Regions from separate parts of the Homo sapiens genome. Here regions 2, 3, 4, 5, 6 and 7 are each linked to region 1. Evidence: promoter capture Hi-C in 16 types of primary human blood cells and fetal thymus (Javierre and others, 2016). All regions are on one chromosome and are shown on one strand. Each heading gives the region's core, a stretch centred on a gene start or on the middle of the fragment in contact. The rest is flanking DNA. Distances are from core to core; before and after follow the strand shown.

Region 1 (2,659 bases), core at 114-2,613:
ATAGTTGGTCTGAGAAAAAACGCACGGCTGTATGTTGCAAAGATATTTTGGGTTTTTCCCATATCATCACTTAAAAAAATAATTATTATTATAGACGTAGAATTAATTTAGACTTCTAGAAAAATTTATACGCTTTTAATTGGTTCAGCAGGTTTAAAAATCGAGAGCCCTCAAACATTTTTCCCAAGTAGGTACTGCCCGGTTGGCTCAGAGGACATGAAATGAGTTTATCTCCTTGGAATTCATTATAACCAGAAGCCTCACATGTATATTGGCCTTGTCCGTTTCTGTAAGCAATCTCACATGTATTTCACACTGGATATTTACACATTTTTAAATTTTTTAAATTTACCTATATATTTCACAGACTTATAACCCCAGAAAAGTTATTTTTTGCCATAACTAGGGGGAAGAAGGCAAATTTCCTAGAACTAACCTTCAATTTCTCCTAAATTCAGTACTGTCAAACTTTTTTGTCTTTTTTCACATTTTTTGTTTCACCCTCTTCTTTTAAATATTAATAAAAGATGTCAAAATATCCACTGCAGTGGCTTTCCAACATTATTCAACACAAAATACATTGTACGTACATCATGACTATAGACATAATTTTATACGTGTGTGTATGTCGAGCAAAAATTTAATGAAGTGATATTGATTGTCATTATGTGGTATGCATTCTGATACGTCCTATTCAATTTGCTGTACATTTTTTTCTTTTTTAATTCTCATATTGGCCCACTAATTGGCTCTTGCATTTTGAACTCAGTGTGTGTGTGTGTGTGTGTGTGTGTGTGTGTATATACACACACGCATATATATCTATTGAATTTAGTGTGTGTGTATATATACATAAATACATATATACATATATAAACACATATACATATACACACATATACATATATACACACATATCTATACACATGTATGTATATGATATGTATATACATACGTATATATGTGTGTATATATACTCACACACATGTATATATACACACATACCAAGTTCAAAATGCAACAGCCAATTAGCGGACCAATTAGTGTGTGTGTGTAGTGTGTGTGTATATATATAGTAAGTTCAACATGCAATGTATATATACACTAAGTATATGTACATTGTATATAAGTAAGTATACTAAGTACATAGTATATATACACGATATAAGTACACTAAGTATATCGTATATATATACTAAGTATATATACATACACACAGATGTAACTTCCCCACAAAGGCACTGATGGTACCCACGTGCAGGATCTTGCGCAGTTTTCCACTTCTTGCCTGAGCTCTGGTGCCTGGAACACTTCAGTAACCATTCCCTGAATGTTGCACCCACAACCTGGCAGGGAGGGAGCCTGCTCTGACCCCAGAGAGGAGCCAGGCACCTGCCCCTGGTCTGCCCCTATCTGACCATGCCCTGAGCCCTCATGCAGGCTGCATTCCTAGAACTCTTGCCTGGGATTACTTATAAAGTGCGAAGGTCACTGGGCTGACAAGGATCTCTGTTCCCACCACCTGTTTATTCCTGAGCATTACAAGGAAAGACTTCCTGTAGGTCCCCTCACCAATATCATTCAATTCAATGAGTGTAGACTGTGAACTTCCTTGACTCAAAATATCCTAATGCTATGGAATAGCTGTTGAGTCAGGATGAGGAAGGAATATTAAACATAGGAATGATACCTTCTACTCAGAAAATCACCGTAAACTGAGGGCTCTTAGCCCGGGGTTATCACTGCTTCATTTGGGTCTGACCTACAGTCTTGATTCTCAGGAAGTTACATATTACCTATGAAATAATAGATATACCTGAAGTAAAACATTTGGTGACTCTCATTTCTAATAAGTACTTTTAGATATTCTTTTTTTTTTTTTTTTTTGAAATCCTTATGACCGGCTGATCACTTTCTCCTGTTGTCATCCTGGGTACCGATAGGACCTCCGTTGCTGAGCCTCCAGAGAACAGTCCTTTTAATGAGGCCGTGGCCCCAAGGCCTCGGAGAAGTTCATAGAAAATGTCTGAAAGAAGGTGGGAGGGATCTTGTTTCCTGGCCCTATAGGGACATTGTCTTCCTTGATAAAGCTGGGTACAGCCTTGATATGAATAGATTGGGGAGCACCAGGAATGTACCTCACCTGGGCTGTCGAGAAAAGACAGTGTGCTCAGAAGAGGTATGGCAGGTGCTGAATATTCCCTTGGAGGGACGAAGGCAAGAAAGGCCCCTACAGCAATGAGGGGAGAAAATCCACAACCCAAGTAGAACTAGGATTTCTTATGTGTGAGACAATACATTGCTCATTTACATGTAAAGTGTGTATAATATTTTTAATCCATCGTATTCAGGCGAGCAAGATCAGTCATTTCATTTTTGTATAACTTGCCTCGAAGCTGCCTGTTGTGGCCCCATTCTGCATAGCAAATCACCACAAACTTAGCAGCTTACAACAAGGTTCCCTGTTCAGGGTCTCAACACTGAAATCAAGGTGTTCGCCCAGCTGAGTTTACGTCTTAGGCAAGACTAAGGAAGAATTCATTACCACAGGCATTCAGGTCATCGGTGCTTCTGCCATGGTGACCTAGTGACCTCTGAGCAGCTGCCACCTCTGGGCACCAGACAGGAGGGCATGAGGCACGCATCTTCTTTGAGTCTG
Region 2 (2,659 bases), core at 93-2,592, 490 kb before region 1:
TTTTGTATTTTTAGTTGAGAAGGGGTTTCACCATGTTGGCCAGGCTGATCTCGAACTCCTGACCTCATGATCTACTCGCCTAGGCCTCCCAAAGTGCTGGGATTACAGGCGTGAGCCACCGTGCCTGGCTGAAGTTCTTTTGAAGGTCACATGTATTTTGTAAATTAACAGAGACTCCCTTGGTATTTTGACTAGTGTTCTGTTTATGTGAAAAAGTTCAAATAGGCTTTGCAAAATGAGATAGAGATGAATGCCCTGGTGGCTCCAGGAAGTATGCAGTTTTTTCAAATATGCGAGAAACAAACGCTTTATTTTCCAGTGATGACAGAAGAAACAAAGAAATTTGATACTCTCAGCCTGACTCCTTCCCTTGATCCACCATCAGCTATAGGAGTCCAAAGAAAATGAACTATGAACCAAAGTTAAATCCAACAAGTCACATGCACAGAACAAGATTAACATCACCATTAACATCGCCATTACTGAAGCGAAAGCTGGCCCAAACCCCACTACTGAGTAGCCCATCCTCATTCCAGCAAAGAAATAACTAACTCAGTAAGTCTTTTGGAAGACTCAGGGTCAGGGTGCCATATTGTATGTTTTCCAAGTCCAAACCAGACTAAGCTATAAAGAAGTAATGCCCACTGACCCTTTACATTTCTGCAAAGCCTCTCTCAATTACAGATGCTTTTATTGACTTCCAAGGTAGCTTGGCCAAGATCATTATAAGGCAGCTAGGTTCAGGAGGGGATAAAAAAATTGTGTAGCAAAGTCTTGACCCTAGATGTGTGTTTATAATCTACAAATATGTTAACTTGTAAAATAGAGTTGTCTGAGCCAAGTTGTTCTTGGGAATCAGAGGGTGAAGAAGCCAAATCTTTTTGGAGAGATACCAGGCATTTCTTCTTTTAAGGGATTTCACTTGAGAGATACTTTAAAGGACCAGTAAGGTCTAAATAGAGAAGAAGATCCAGGCAAAACTAACCTTACAAGTGAAAAACTTCCTGCTGTTTTCTTTTTTTGTTGTTGTCTCTATCAAGAACTTTCTGCCTCAGAGCCTTTACACTTACTATTATATCTGTTTGAAATGATCTTTTTCCAGAAGTCTATATAGCTTGCTTTTTCACTTCTGTTAGAGCTGTCCTCAAATGCCATCCGATCAGGCTGCGTTTTGTGATCACTTCCTCTAAGTGGCATGCGTCACTTTCATCATTCACCATCTTCTGAATCTGCTGTCCTTTTCTTCATAGCATCTGTCACTGCCTGACAAAATATATATTTATTTTTTCACTCACTGTCTGTTAACGCCCACTACAATATGAGCTCTATGAGACCAATGACTATAAATATATATATATAGAGAGAGAGAGAGAGAGAGAGAGCGCTAAATTTCCAGTTTCTAGAACGCTATCTGTCTCAGGAGGGTGGGCTCTTAATATATGCTAGCAGAATGAATGCTCAATCCCACTTTTATTTTTCTTATTGCAGAAAGGAAAACTGACAAACCCACCCTTATATTATTTCCCTCCAGGGCTTTTTCTTTTGCATATTTATATTGAAATCACCATTAATGCTGTCACTCACAATAAATTATAGCGTGGTACACCTGAAGAACAATGAACTAAATTAGCACATTCGATCAGATTTCCATGAATATGCCCAGCTTTGTTTCCATTAATGTTATTTTTCTATTAGAAGTAGATGAGAGAGAACCAACTTGTTAGTTTCTAATTAAAAAAAATTAATGTAAATGCTCATTGACTTAATTATGAGCATATACATTAAAAAGGAAGTAAAGAAATTCCTTATGACCATAAAGTGGAAGAGGAAGATGGAGAAGGGCTTTTCTGAATTTGGAATTCTAAAGCATACCTTAGGAAATCTGCAACTGAGTACCTACAAGGTACCACTATGTAAAATGTGATAGGCAATTGATATGGTTTGCCTGTGTCTCCACTCAAATCTCATCTTGAACTATATTTCCCATAATCCCCATGTGTGGTGAGAGGGACCTGGTGGGAGGTAACTGACTCATGGGGGTGGTTACCTCCATGCTGTTCTCGTAATAGTGAGTGAGTTCTCACGAGATCTGATGGTTTTTTAAGCGGCTTTCCCCGACTTCATTCTGCACGTCTCCTTGCTGCTGCCGTGTGAGGACAGACGTATTTGCAATCCCCTTATGCCATAATTGTAAGTTTCCTGAGGCCTCCTCAACCCTTTGGAATTGTGAGTCAATTAAACCTCTCTCCTTGGAGATCGAGACCATCCTAGCTAACACGGTGAAACCCCGTCTCTACTAAAAAAATACAAAAGAATTAGCCGGGCATGGTGGCGGGCGCCTTTAGTCCCAGCTGCTGGGAAGGCTGAGGCAGGAGAATAGCGTGAACCCGGGAGGCGGAGCTTGCAGTGAGCCAAGATGGCGCCACTGCACTCCAGCCTGGGCAACAGAGAGAGACTCCGTCAAAAAAAAAAAAAAAAAAAAAAACTCTCTCCTTTATAAATTACCCAGTCTTGGGTATGTCCTTATAGCAGCGTGAGAACGGACTAATACAGCAATCAAGACTATGTTGGCCCAGGATGCTCTTTTAAAAAATTATTTCTTTAATAGATGGGGTCTCAATCTGCTGCCCAGGCTGGAGTAAAGTGGCACAATCACGGC
Region 3 (2,659 bases), core at 56-2,555, 470 kb before region 1:
AAATTAGCCAGGCATGGTGGCGGGCACTTGTAGTCCCAGCTACTCGGGAGGCTGAGGCAGGAGAATGGCGTGAACCCAGGAGGTGGAGCTTGCAGTGAGCCGAGATTGCGCCACTGCACTCCAGCCTGGGCAACAGAGCGAGACTCTGTCTCAAAAAAAAAAAAAAAAAGAAAAAAAAAAGTCAAGCCAAATGCCTCTTTCTTTGTGGAGCTTTATTGAATATCCAGAGGCTATTCTTTTAGTTGCGCAATGTGCTTCCATAGATTTCGGCCACACATCTGTTAGTGCTCCTAACATACGACACGGCAATGAGTGGTGTATCCTCCTGGGTAGAACAGGCATTCCTCAGGGAGCTGCTAAGATTCTATGTGGCCGTGTAATCCTTGTCCCAAACACAGGGTCTAGAACATAATCATTCATTAATGAATATTTATTGAATTAAATAATGGGTTTTGAGCTAGGCTTGGAAATTAATATTAGATCTGCATTTGTGGTGGGGGTGGGAGGGTGTGAGGTCACCTCAGGAATGGGAACAACCTTGTGGAAACTGAAATGGACATGACATTTTGTTCATTCATTCAACAAACACTTGAATGTGCCAAACACTTGAGTAAAAGCAGATGTAGCTTCTTCCTCTGGGACTTACAAACTAGTGGGAGAAATCAACTTTCATCAAATATAACAGTAAATACACATTTGTAACTGATAAATTCTACAAAAGAGAGGGCTATGGTGCTCTGAGACAGTCTGACTTGGTCACAGAAGACAGAATATATGTGAAATTAGTGGAGAGCATTTCTGTGAAAAGAAGTAGTGTGTACAGACTCCACTCAATGGCCTAAAAGAAGGCTGTGGGGATGGAGGGGTACAGTGCTGGGATGTTAGGCTGAAGAAGCAAGTAGGGGTCAGATCATGTAGGGCTCTTTAAGCCACATCCAGGAGTGCTGACTTTCTTGTAAGAATAATCCAAACCATTGAGCAACCCTAAGTCCTAAAGACTGGTGTAGGGGTTCAGCAATCATCAAATGTTCCCATTGGCATTTTGCAAAGCTCATGCTGGGTGCAGAGTGGGTAATGCATGGGGGCACAGCCAGAGTGGATTCTGGCGGAGTGATTGACAGGCTTCTGCAACCATGCAGTTGAGAGATGATAGAAGCTTGGATGCAAGTGTAGTGACAGAAACAGAGAAGATGGACACAGTGGTTCACACAAAAAATGACAACTTCACTACAAGTGATTTAGCAGTGATAAGAATTAACATTGAATAGGAAATATTGGGGTTAAGCAGTGCAGGACTCAGTCTGTTGGGCCACATAGATCAAACCCAATACCTATGCTCATTGACATCTCTTCCTTTACCTGCGTTTTCCCTTTAATTCATTTACTCACTCAATCATTTATTCATTGAATCACTCATTCATTCACTCGGTATTTACTGAGGTCCTACTATGTGCCAAGCTTTATATCAAGTACTCCTGCAAATCTCAATTTTCCTTTCTTCTGTCTTAATTTATCCTAGCTTTTCTTACCAAAGTAAAAAAAAAAACTTCTTCCAAGAGCCCTTCACTGGTCTTCCCAGTTATGCATAAGCAGCCTTCACTCATCCTTTCCCCATTTGAAACGGCACAACACTCATGCATTAAGTTATTTGACTTCATCTGTAGGTGTTAAATCAACAACTTCCTTTTGACACTTGGTTCCTCACTTAACCAGAGACCCACAAAATAAAGGCACGTGGTAAACGATTGTTTCACTGAGCGAAACTAAATTAAAGAATACACAGGCAGGAAACTTCACAAAACAGAATTAAATTATCTCTAAATGATCATCAGGTTCTGATGATGCCCCTGGATTTCTTTATTATTACTAGTTTTGATAAATGATTTATTTTTCATGTAGAATTGTAAAACGCTCCATTCCTTGTCATTGTGTCGTTTCAGAAATCTCTGGTAATTTAGTTAACCTAACCTTCCCTGTGACATATGGGTCTCTTATAAAAGCCGTTCAGTGTTCTGCTGAAGCCAGCTCATACCAGCTCAGGAGAGCCAGTTGTTCACATCTTTTTTTTCCAGTAAGGCTATTTTTTTATTTTTATTTTTTATTGTGCTTAAATTTTAGGGTACATGTGCACAACGTGCAGGTTAGTTACATATGTATACACGTGCCATGTTGGTGTGCTGCACCCATTAACTCGTCATTTAACATTAGGTATATCTCCTAATGCTATCCCTCCCCCCTCCCCCCTCCCCCCTCCCCCCACCCCACAACAGGCCCGGTAAGTCAGGAAACAACAGGTGCTGGAGAGGATGTGGAGAAATAGGAACACTTTTACACTGTTCGTGGGACTGTAAACTAGTTCAACCATTGTGGAAGTCAGTGTGGCGATTCACAGCTTTTTCTAGCTCCTAACTCAATGATTTACTTTAGTAGCTTGAAATTGGCAATGTTGGGAGTATTTTTCACCATGGAAATTGGCAAATGCTACAAATCAAGGCTTTGACGTTTTCCTCTGGGAAGCCAGTCATGAATGACTTTCTAGCACGCCATTGCTTCGAACTCACCCCGCAAAAAAAAAAAAAAAAAGAAAGAAAAAATCCAAACCAAACCAAAACAAAATTAAGATGAGTGGGTTCAATGTATTCTTAAACATGAGTGTGTG
Region 4 (2,659 bases), core at 115-2,614, 460 kb before region 1:
CTTTTCCAAGCACAGATGTGAAGTATTTAAAAGTCTTTGATAGCAAATATATGTTTAAGAGACATTAAAATAAAATTCCAAATACATGATTTATGTTTTAAGCATTCAGTATTATTTGATTTTCATTTATACCTAGAAAGGAGATAGACCACATACTAATTTTCAAAATGTACATAATATGTATCTCTTCTCAAATGCTTCAGTTCCACAGCAGGGTTCAGCGTCAGGAGGTTGTCTAATATTGTTTGTCATTAAAGACAGTTTAAATATACGTTAGGTTTTTTTTTTTGAGATAGTTTTAATTCTCGGCTCACTGCAGCCTCTGCTTCCTGGGTTCAAGCAATTCTTGTGCCTCAGCCTCCTGAGTAGCTGGGATTACAGGCACCTGTCACCACGCCCAGCTGATTTTTTGTATTTTAGTAGAGATGGGGTTTTACCAGGTTGGCCAGGCTGGTCTTGAACCCCTGAGCTCAGGCAATCCACCCGTCTCAGCCTCCCAAAATGTTAGGATTACAGGCGTGAGCCGCTGCACCCGGCCAAAATACATGTTAGTTCTTGATGCATGCATAGGTAGAGAAAACCCTTTTTTTTTTTTCTTTAAGAGTTTAAAAATTTTCAGGGTGAAAGATGTGAACTGTCTCTGGAAGCCAGTGTGTGAGGCCAGAAGCAGTGATATTTCTTTATCCTGCCCATGGGAATTTCAAGCGTAAGTGGGGAATTTGGATCAGACTCTTTGAGGTTGTTCTGAGAGTGCGTATTTTCACTATTTTGTTCTGACTGGAGAAGAGAAAAATATAAGCAGGGAATTTTTAAAAGTTGATTAATCTGATGACCCAGGTCTTATTTTGAGTTTACAAGGGACCCAGAAGTGGCAGATACTCAAGCATTTTCACACAGTCAACAGATACAAGAGGAGAAACAAAATGCTCATTTCACACTAGGAGCTCAAGTAGCGTCTTTTCTGGTGAATTCTCCGTGTGGAGTGAATTTCTCTGTCTGGCAGTGGATACATTAGTTGTTCCTGTGCGCGAGCCCTTGTGTTATGGGGTAGAAGGAACAATGACTGTAGTTTAATCAAGTCTGACGTCTTAATAAATGGACTGACAAATAAGGATAAAATACCAATTTTAATTTAATAGAGCCACCTATCCTTAACGTTTTTATTTGGCTGTGCCATGTATTTATTACTGCTTGATGGTTTTATGTATTTAATTTATAGTGAGATAACAAAGCTTATTTTATTTCATTTAATAGTGAATTACAAAAGTCTGAGGTAATTGTTCTCACATAAAAATATTTGAAGTGAATTTACAATATTTGTCTTTGCTCATGTGTGATTACAGTTTTTGGTGTTCACAGAGGATGAAAGTCATTTATGGGCAGTTGTGTGTTTGAGGAATAATCTGATGATTGTATAATTTGTCTTTCGTCATAGAGTCTCCTGATATGGTATTAAAATGAGAATTTCCTATTCAAGTTTCCTACTGTTTGCGAAGGGAAGCTTCTCTTTGTAATGTCACGAATGCAAAATTGATATCAATTTCTCTAAATAAATAATTATGAGAACATCAAATCTAGAAAAAAAAACTTCCAGTAACCTCCATTTATGTAAGCACAAATGAAGTTGAAACTGCAGAGATCACATCAAAGTGTCTGTGAAGAAAAACTGCTGCTAGGATAAGATTTTTCCGGCTGTTTAAGGTGCCTGTGACATGGAAAGCTGGAAATAATAAATCCAGACTATTTTGTTGGAAAGTGCTTACTTTAATGAAGAATCTGAAGAAACGCTTAGGAAAAGAAAATCTTAAGGGAAATACTTTTCTTCTTTTAGCATTAGTCGGTATAATATAAACGCTTAGGAGAAGAAAATCTTAAGAGAAATACTTTTCTTCATTTTAGCATTAGTCAGTATAATATTTTAACTCCTTGAAGGGTAGATATATCCAAAATTAGTTGAGTGAAACTTCACTCATCAGAGAAAATTGGAGAAACAGTAGAAGAGAATTGAAATCCACATTGGAGTCTTCCTTCACCCAATTATTTTACTTTGGCTCTTTTGTGTGAAATATGTGTTTCAGATTTTATAGTTTTCAAAATCCATCTATATTTATTGTCTTAATGCTTACCAAAAAAGTAGGCTGTGAGGTGTCTGCTCTTAGTAATTGCAGTCACAATTTTTGAGTACTGGGAGTCAGGCACCAGGCTCAGCATGTTGTGTGCCATCTCTGGGCCTTTCAAGAATCTCTCAGCTTCGTTTTAAGGACCCTGCCTTAGTCATGAGGAAAACGCCCGAGGCTGGCTGTGGGTCTTTGTTCAGGAGTCACGGAATTAGTCTGCACCAGACAAAATACAAAAGTCCATCCTATTCTATTTTAACTGTCTCCATATATTTTAAGTTGCTTCCTCTTGTACAATAAGATCTTAAAGTGTTAAAGAACACACATATTCTACTGAGTTACCATAGGTCACACAAAGATAAACAACACATTTTACAATATAGTAGGAGAAGCAGACATTTCATACACAACTGTAATAAAAAGAATGTTTTGAATGGAGGAGTATATACAATACTAGGGATTTATTAAAGAGGAAGCAATTAATTTGTGCTGGAGGGAATAAGAGAGACCATTTGAGGCCCTGCCTGGTGAGCTGGGACCTG
Region 5 (2,659 bases), core at 93-2,592, 440 kb before region 1:
TTGTATCTAAGGAAGACATTATTCCTTAACCCACTATAATTCCTGTCAATTAAAAAAATCTACACACCTTCTTCCAAAGATAATTTAAGGTGATTTTCAAAATGACATAAAGTACAACACGGTAAGATTAAAGTAGATAAGGGAAATAATGATATAAAAATTAGCAGAAGCTAACAATGAGTTAACACTATCAATTTTCATGTATACTTAGAAGTGGTGGGAAACAAATGAAATTATAGTCTTTCAGTGATCAACACAAAAAAATGAAAATACAAAATAAAATGTAGTGTTCTTCAGGTTAGGAAAGATTCTTAGACAAATGTATAGTGATTCCTATGCTTCAGAGAGAAACTTCCATAGTTCCTCATAAAGAGACATTGTGTGAAGTAATGAGTATCATCTGCAATACAGCAAACACAAAAGTGAAATTCACTGGACTTTCTTAAAATGGCCTCCATTGGGATCTATAGCCTAATATTCAAGAAAAATACAACAAAGCAGTTCTTCTAAGAGCCAACATGACGGGGTCCATGTATGCAGCTCATTATTTTGGCTTGATTCAAGAATGAGATTTAGTGGATTTGGAGAAGAAAGTTCAAGGCTATATTTTCTGACAAATGCTTCAAGTCTAGATATCATGTGCCAATGAATAAGGAGAGATTTATATGGGTTATAGGTTCTGATCAAGATTATATTTAAAATTAAATGCGCTTTTTCCCCTTTATAGTATAATGAAGGCATTATAACTTAGAAATCATATATGAATCCTTCTGAGAGTAGATATCAACTGCTGCAGTTTTTGGTCAATATACATAGAAGATGGGGTGTTTGAATCTCAAGCTAGCTCAGGGGGAAATAATTTAAAGATGACAAAATTTGCAAAAGCTGATTCTATTTATTTATTTATTCAAATTACATTGTGGGACAACTGGTGACTGGCTTTCTTTCTACTTTCCTTTATGGCTCCTTTACGTGTATCTTCCTTCTGTTATGTGTATGTTTAACACAGATTCTGTACAAGCAAATCTTAATGTGCTTATGTGCGTGCCTCCATATACGCAAAGAAAAAAAAATTATCATTCTCTTGACAGGATGAGCTCCCTGGTGGTCTCTCTGGTTGATTTGCAATGTAATTTGACCCAGCAAATGCAAACATGGGCCCTTTCTCCCTGGAGATTTCTAATGTCATCTTCTATCCCCATTTTTCTACCTGTTCCTCACCACCGAGGAACGTGGACATCAGGACGTCAGCATATTCCATCTCCTCCTGTCTCCTCTGGGGACATGTTGGTTGGTTACATTCTGCCCTCCTTTCCTTCATCATCTCCCTTCTGACTAGCTCTCTTTCCCCTCAGCATTCTCAATTCTCTCCCACTTTCAAAAGCAAATAAATGAAGTGACAGGAAAAAATGACCGTCCAATGGCCCTGTCCTCTGGCCTCTCCACCCTTGGGTAATACCGCTTCTCTCAGCTGGATATAAATACTATTTCTAAAAAATTATCTTTAATTTACTCATGGGCTGAGTTTCTGTTTCCTGCATTCATTTAAATGTTACATAATTGTAATTTTTTATCTTTTTCTCTGAAACATAAAATGTCTAAGTGCTGAGTTTGCTTAAAGTGAGAATTTCGGTGATTTGGAGATATTTACTAAATTTGAAAACTGAGGATACATTCATTTTATTATTCCACAAGCAGTTTTATTTGAACAGAAGTATTTTCCTTTTCATTATATAAATTTGGGAGCAAGTAGAAAATGTCCCTGGGTTATACCAGGTTAGTCATATCCACGAGAACCAGTTTTTGTTATCCAAAGTTGATAGTATGTTTCAAAAGTCATGATTCTGAATCTTAATGCTCAAAAGGAAAAAAAAATTTTTCATATTGTTGTTCTTCTGCCAGAACATAAATACTTTTCTGTTTTGTTTTTATAATATAATGCATCCCAGGGATGTAAAAAACAGAATTTCAATTTGTACCTTCACACTTTTACAGCTGCCTGCAGGGTACGTGTAAAAATAATTTGACTAGAAGTTAACTTTTCTGGTAGATTAGGTTATCAAAATGATGATTAATATCAAATTACCTACAAATACTATAAAAGAGATAACTTTAGAATTTGTAAAATAAAGTCTTAGATTTACTTTTTGTACATACAGCATGTTTGAAGCTACAGGTAATTTTGTGAGATTTTAGCGTCCTAGCTCAAGTTTACTTAACAACTGTTTCTGCAGCTTTTTCCTTGATGCTTCACATTATATTAGCACACAGTTTTAAAATTCCATAGTGGGAAGTACACTTACACTGTTAGTGCAGACATTTTAGAGAATCAATTTCGGACATTTGTTGTTATATAACTCCTAGTTCAACTGGACAGAATTAATTCTCTGATCACCAGTCAGCAAATATATGAGGGGGAAGAATTTATAAGCCCTAATTTCTAGAAAAGGCAGTTTACTTTATGTAGCTAAAATGCATGGCTACATTTTTATATTAAACCAGACTGTGTATAACTAACTAATCGATTGAACAACACAGATAACAAAGTGAGGAATAGTCACACCTCCTTATAATGGTTTTGAGGATGAGATGAATAATAGTAAGCAGCTAGCACAGAGTTTGGCATATTATAGATACAGATAGAGTGAATACATGAATA
Region 6 (2,659 bases), core at 50-2,549, 420 kb before region 1:
ACTGGTAAAGTAAGTGGTGCTGTACTGTGGAGTGGAGGGAAGTGATTGATAACTTTTGAACAAGGTGAACTTCAAACATAACATAGCTTCATAGCTTTAGGAAGATTAATCCAGCAAGAAGTTCTTCTTCTTTTTTATTTATATTTTTTTGGAAGCATGTTTCGAAGACAATTCTTTTTTCTATTACAAAGGCTTATTTTTTTCATTTTCTCTTCTTTTATATTCTCCCAGACACCTCACCTATGTTCTTGCTCAACTTCTTAGTTTTTTCCTTTCTCTCCTCTGCTGGCACTTCTGCCCCTGCCTCGGGTATGACAGTAACAGCCCAGAGACACCCACATGCTTTTATGAGCCACTCTGCTTACTCTTAGAACAAGCATTTTCACACACTTCTGTTGAATATATCATGTCTCTTTTCTGCATGACTTTTTTTTGAAACTTCTGTCCACGTGGACATGCGACTGTGATGGGAAACACTGTGGCTCTTTAGGGGAGAAAAGCACCCACAAGACTGGAAACCAAAAGAGTTTTCAAGCTTCTACTCTGCAAAGTCACAGGACTGTGTTTGGAAAGCCAAATATTCTGGTTGAGCTATAGTTTCTTTCATCAGCAAAAACAAGATAACCTTAACGCCTAGAATACCTCTCACATCACTACTCTTCTCCTCACTGTCAGTTCACGGGCCTAACCCCTAGTCACTCTTAGTATCTCAGATTATTAATATACCACTGCCTCCAGGGAGCCTTCTCTGACTTCCCATACCTAGGTTACTCCTACCTAGCTCTCAACCGTAGAATTCTCTCATTACACTGAATTGCAATGGCTGGTTTGTCTATGTTCTTTCTTAGACTGTAAATTTCATATGGTTTTGTATCATATCTTTCATATTTATCCATTATGGCCGGTACCTAGCTTAGTGGCTAGAAATTAGTAGACTGTCAGTAAATATTTGTCAAATGATTGAATGAATAATATGATAAGAATTTATGGTATTTCATCTTTGTTTATATGAAACTAAATGCCTCGGAAATTTTGATATGCCTTTAATATTTTACTGTATTCTTATACTTCTAAAGCATTTTGCTCTCCCTCCTCCTGCACTAGAAAGCCACCGTGCTATTCGCTTCTGATTTCACAATCGAGTTTGTAAAAGACACTATTTGAATCAAATGGATCTCTTTAGAGTTGCTTTTTGGTTTGGGTTCATCACCATCTGAAATAAATATGAAGGGGAAAAGGGATAATTTGAGGACACTAGTTTAAAATAGCCTAATTAACAGTCTTGATAAAGTGTTTGAAAAAATTACTTCACATTCTTTCTACATTTTCTACATTCTAATTATTCTAACCTTCATTGTACAGGAAGATATTAAAGATTTACTAAGATGAGGTTCAGAAGTGTTGTCCCAGTAGAAGACTGTTAAGAAGCTCTCATTGTCATAAGCTCTCATTGGAATTCCAAACAGCTCTTCTGTAGCTTCTGTAAAATTAGCTAATCATGCTGTTCTTGGATTCCCAGTTTTGGTTCTCCATTTCCTGTGTACGGTCCTGGAAGAGGCTCTTCACTATTGGACTTCCCTATAAGGTTGAGCTCAAGGAGCCTAAGATGGTTGTCCCTCCAAAGAGAGGGTTTGCAGGAGCAACTAGAAGTAGTTTGCCCTTCTTCTGCAAGGCTTTTTCAACTGTGAAATCATTTTGACAAGATGCTTTGTCATATGCTTGACATCTTTTTTTCTTTTTTAATGAGGAAGTGACTGAGAGATAATTTAATCTGAAATGCTGCCACCTACGTAGCTAGAGATTAATTGGATACTGTCTGAAAAATTATTTGAGCACCTCAGAGACAGAGTCTAAGTAAACAGAAAGTGGTGTTAATAAAGTAGAGACAAATTATGACTCTTCCCCATCTACTTAACCAGGTTGTTGGCAAACCGCTCCTGTTTCTGAGTATCCTTAAATAGGCTAAAATGACAATTTGATATTGCAGCAAGTGTGGATTTTACACAACTAGGATATTGTTGTCTCCTTCTAGCACAGTTATGAATTTGGCTACCTTTCTCTTGGAAGCTTATTTTGTACAGGAAGGAAAACAGTAATTTAACCACAATGGACTTTGTTGAAAAACATAATGCTATTAACGAAGTAAGTGTGTAGTCTTTTCAGCTTTGAAATTTTTCCTCAAGATCTCCAAAAGATCTTTATTTTAAAATGTTTCTGGATGTATTCGTTCTTTCTTGTGTTTCTATAATTGAATACCTGAGACTGAGTAATTTATAAAGAAAAGAGGTTTAATCGTTCACGGTTCTGCAGGCTGTACAAGCATGGCACCACCATCTGCTCAGCTTCTGGTGAGGGCCTGAGAAAGCTCACAGTCATGATGGAAGGTGAAGCGAGAGCAGGCATACCACTTGGTGACAGCAGGAGCAAGAGAGAGAGGAGGTGCCATACTCTTTTAAACAACCAGGTATTCCATGAACTAACTGAATGAGAATTTACTCATCACCAAGGGGACGGTGATAAGCCATTCATGAGGGTACTGCCCTCAGGATAAGGTACCTCCCACCAGGCCCCACCTCCAACATTGGAAATTACATTGGAACATGAGATTTGGAGGGAAAAATATCCAAACCACATCACCAGGATATAACTCCAACAGTGT
Region 7 (2,659 bases), core at 68-2,567, 350 kb before region 1:
AACGTCACTGGACAGTTTCGATGTCTTCTGGTCAATATCATATAGATCTGGTGCCAATGTAAGCTTAAACTTTTTACCGAGTTTATGCTTTGCAACAGTTTAATTTTATTATACAGGGTATTTGATGTGCTTCCACTCACAGATGCACCATATTAACAGTTGGTGTATGATATTTACGGTGTTGTGGAAAGAAAATTAAACTCAGTCAGAAGATGTTAATTTCATTTCAGCTCCAGCATTTATCCTCATACTAGTCCCCTAATCTCTAGGCCTCAGTTTCTTCATTTGAAAAGTGAAAGGAATCGTTTCTGCTTTACCTAGTTCATAAGATTTCCTTTGAAGGTCAACAGAGGTAACGGATGTGAAATTATTAGCTAACTCTCAAACTCTGTAAAAATAAATGGTGTTGTCTGTGGTCAACTAACAGCACAAGTAGAGAGCTGGAAAAAGTTGTGACCATAATTGTCTCTTCCAATTAATTAATGCAGTCTACTATTTTATATGCTACTTGCCTAAGAGATAAATGATAAAATCCTCATTAATTTTAATTTATGACCCAAATTAATTTTTGGTATATTTGAGAAAATTATGTTTAAATGATATATGAGGAAACACATGTTTCTCACACACCCATGCACACACCAATCCCCACCAACCATAAGGAATTTCTGCTGCTGCTTCTCTCCATCGTGTTTACTCTTATTAGATTTTGTCTATTAGGTTTTTACACATGAAGGAGAAAGATATATTAGATACTTCTTATGTGTACTTTAGTTTCAAGATACTAAGGAAACAATGTAGGAATTTGGTGAGATTGTAAATATTATTTAAATATAGTATTTAATACATCTGTTAACTGAAATCATTTTAACATCTTCTATGACCATTCTCTTTAGCTAGGAGAATACAGCTAGCTTGTTTAAAATGAACAACTGAAAATGTAATCTTAACAAATACATTCAGTAATATTGAGAAAGACTTTTCCACTAAATTTAAACAAGTTATATAACCAGGCTTATGCAATGAAACTGGTTTGCAAATTCTAATTCCGGAAATTAGATATGATTTTCACTAGGAGGGCAGTGGTCTGTTACATGAATAAAATTTTTGCATATAAATGGAACGAAAATCTTAATAACAGGTAACATATTCACTGGCTAATATTGTAGCATAGTGCTGAAGTATGCAGGATCTATAGTCAGACTGCCTGAGGTTGCAACCCAGTTCCACCATTTTGTAGTTTTGCAAAGTTGGACAAGTCATTTAATTTCTCTGTGCTTTAGTTTGCACATTTGTAGAATGAGACTAATAAAAAGAGATCTATCTGATTGCATAGGCTTGTTGTATGGATTACATGAGTTAATATGGACGAGTGTTTGGGAGCAGTGTGACACTTACTAAGTTATCAGTCAGTTCCCTGGGGAGTGTGGGATTATCCTGATGAGCACAGATTTTAGAATCAGAAAGCCCTGGGTTCAAAGTCATTTATTAATTGTGAAGTTTTCAAAAACCTCAGTTTCTGAGAAATAAAAGGGAAATGATTATGATATAGTCCATACTGCCTTTGTTCAGATGGCTTAACACAGCATCCACACAAGGAATGGCAGCTATCCCCTTTGTCAGGCATTGTAAAGATATAATCACAAATCATTGTATAGTATGATTTTAAAATAATGTAAATGAGAGAACTTCTGAATTTGAAAATGTCCTTGCCACGTGTTATATTTAAAGGACTTTCATAAATGTGCTCAATTATTGATTTATTTTGTTAGATTCAGAATTTCAAAAATGATTAACAAATACTTAAACAACAAAATGCAAACATAGCTTGAGTATGGAATACTGAAATGACAAAAAAAAGTGGTTTATTAGGCCGATCAAGGAATATCAAATGAATGTTTAATTTATTTTGAATTTTGGACTGTCACCATGTTTAAAATGACTTTTTTTTTTCAGGAGAGAAAGAGAGCAAAAAAGAAAGGAGGTATAAATGTAGAAAATGTTTCACAAAGTGATGGGGAGTAAGGGCTTGAACTTTCACTTTCATAATCATGAGTTCTATATCAGACGTACGCTTGTTTTTATTATGAATCAACTTAAGATATTGTCCTTTGAGCTTACACTGGACAAAATTCAGTGGTTTTAGTGGGTGACATTTTCCAAATGAGTCATAATTTGTTCCCAAGGTGGAAAGTACTGATAACTTGGGGCAATATTTAGAGTCAAGAGCATGAGCCCATGTTTTATGTCCATCTCTCTAGTTGAGCCAGTTGCTGGGCTGACATGTATCACTCAGACCAGAAAGCCAAGTCTTATTCCCTCACTTCTTCCTTATAAACCATCTAAAACAATGACAGCGTTTGGTTTGTCCAACTCTGTCCATCTCTGTATGCAGAAAGTCTTTCACATATAAATTTAATCTGACTTATCTGACTTGCTTATAATTCAGATTAAAATGTTATCTTTGACTGCTTTGCACACACCCATTTATTCTTCTTCTTGTTTATTTTTGCAATAGCTTCTTCAGCCTTTATAGATTTTTCCCCTGATGAGGACAGTAGTGGTTATGGGGGAAGCTTTTGGGCATAAAGGCTTTGAGGGTGCATTTCTTGGTAAGAATCTACATGCTATGGACATGGGTACAGGCCTGGTTGCTGTG

The links. The method cuts DNA at HindIII sites, captures the fragments that hold promoters and counts their contacts. A CHiCAGO score of 5 or more calls a contact.
Region 2: a contact is called between a fragment that was not itself captured here and the fragment with the promoter of CHRM3-AS1 in region 1, in 16 of 17 cell types (activated CD4 T cells, total CD4 T cells, naive CD8 T cells and 13 more). The highest score is 57.9, in activated CD4 T cells.
Region 3: a contact is called between a fragment that was not itself captured here and the fragment with the promoter of CHRM3-AS1 in region 1, in 12 of 17 cell types (activated CD4 T cells, non-activated CD4 T cells, total CD4 T cells and 9 more). The highest score is 16.2, in activated CD4 T cells.
Region 4: a fragment that was not itself captured here is called in contact with the fragment with the promoter of CHRM3-AS1 in region 1 in 8 of 17 cell types (non-activated CD4 T cells, activated CD4 T cells, total CD4 T cells and 5 more); the score reaches 9.9 in non-activated CD4 T cells.
Region 5: a contact is called between a fragment that was not itself captured here and the fragment with the promoter of CHRM3-AS1 in region 1, in 3 of 17 cell types (non-activated CD4 T cells, M0 macrophages and total CD4 T cells). The highest score is 5.6, in non-activated CD4 T cells.
Region 6: a fragment that was not itself captured here is called in contact with the fragment with the promoter of CHRM3-AS1 in region 1 in 3 of 17 cell types (non-activated CD4 T cells, activated CD4 T cells and monocytes); the score reaches 6.6 in non-activated CD4 T cells.
Region 7: a contact is called between a fragment that was not itself captured here and the fragment with the promoter of CHRM3-AS1 in region 1, in 1 of 17 cell types (M1 macrophages). The highest score is 5.2, in M1 macrophages.

Annotation. Positions count from the first base shown.
Region 1 is chr1:239,898,509-239,901,167 of GRCh38, forward strand. It overlaps CHRM3-AS1 (CHRM3 antisense RNA 1), which reads right to left and starts at 1,364. Exons shown (of 2, transcript NR_046582.1): 1 at 1,256-1,364. The region is part of intron 6 of CHRM3 (cholinergic receptor muscarinic 3); the gene reads left to right. The HindIII fragment of the contact is 7,774 bases long and covers 1-2,659 here.
Region 2 is chr1:239,406,060-239,408,718 of GRCh38, forward strand. The region is part of intron 1 of CHRM3 (cholinergic receptor muscarinic 3); the gene reads left to right. Among named protein-coding and RNA genes, the nearest start is that of CHRM3, 21 kb to the left of the region's middle. The HindIII fragment of the contact is 7,375 bases long and covers 1-2,659 here.
Region 3 is chr1:239,423,903-239,426,561 of GRCh38, forward strand. All of the region lies in intron 1 of CHRM3 (cholinergic receptor muscarinic 3), which reads left to right. Among named protein-coding and RNA genes, the nearest start is that of CHRM3, 39 kb to the left of the region's middle. The HindIII fragment of the contact is 302 bases long and covers 1,155-1,456 here.
Region 4 is chr1:239,441,869-239,444,527 of GRCh38, forward strand. All of the region lies in intron 1 of CHRM3 (cholinergic receptor muscarinic 3), which reads left to right. Among named protein-coding and RNA genes, the nearest start is that of CHRM3, 57 kb to the left of the region's middle. The HindIII fragment of the contact is 269 bases long and covers 1,231-1,499 here.
Region 5 is chr1:239,460,546-239,463,204 of GRCh38, forward strand. All of the region lies in intron 1 of CHRM3 (cholinergic receptor muscarinic 3), which reads left to right. Among named protein-coding and RNA genes, the nearest start is that of CHRM3, 75 kb to the left of the region's middle. The HindIII fragment of the contact is 6,491 bases long and covers 1-2,659 here.
Region 6 is chr1:239,481,865-239,484,523 of GRCh38, forward strand. All of the region lies in intron 1 of CHRM3 (cholinergic receptor muscarinic 3), which reads left to right. Among named protein-coding and RNA genes, the nearest start is that of CHRM3, 97 kb to the left of the region's middle. The HindIII fragment of the contact is 1,532 bases long and covers 534-2,065 here.
Region 7 is chr1:239,546,031-239,548,689 of GRCh38, forward strand. The region is part of intron 3 of CHRM3 (cholinergic receptor muscarinic 3); the gene reads left to right. Among named protein-coding and RNA genes, the nearest start is that of CHRM3, 160 kb to the left of the region's middle. The HindIII fragment of the contact is 2,513 bases long and covers 62-2,574 here.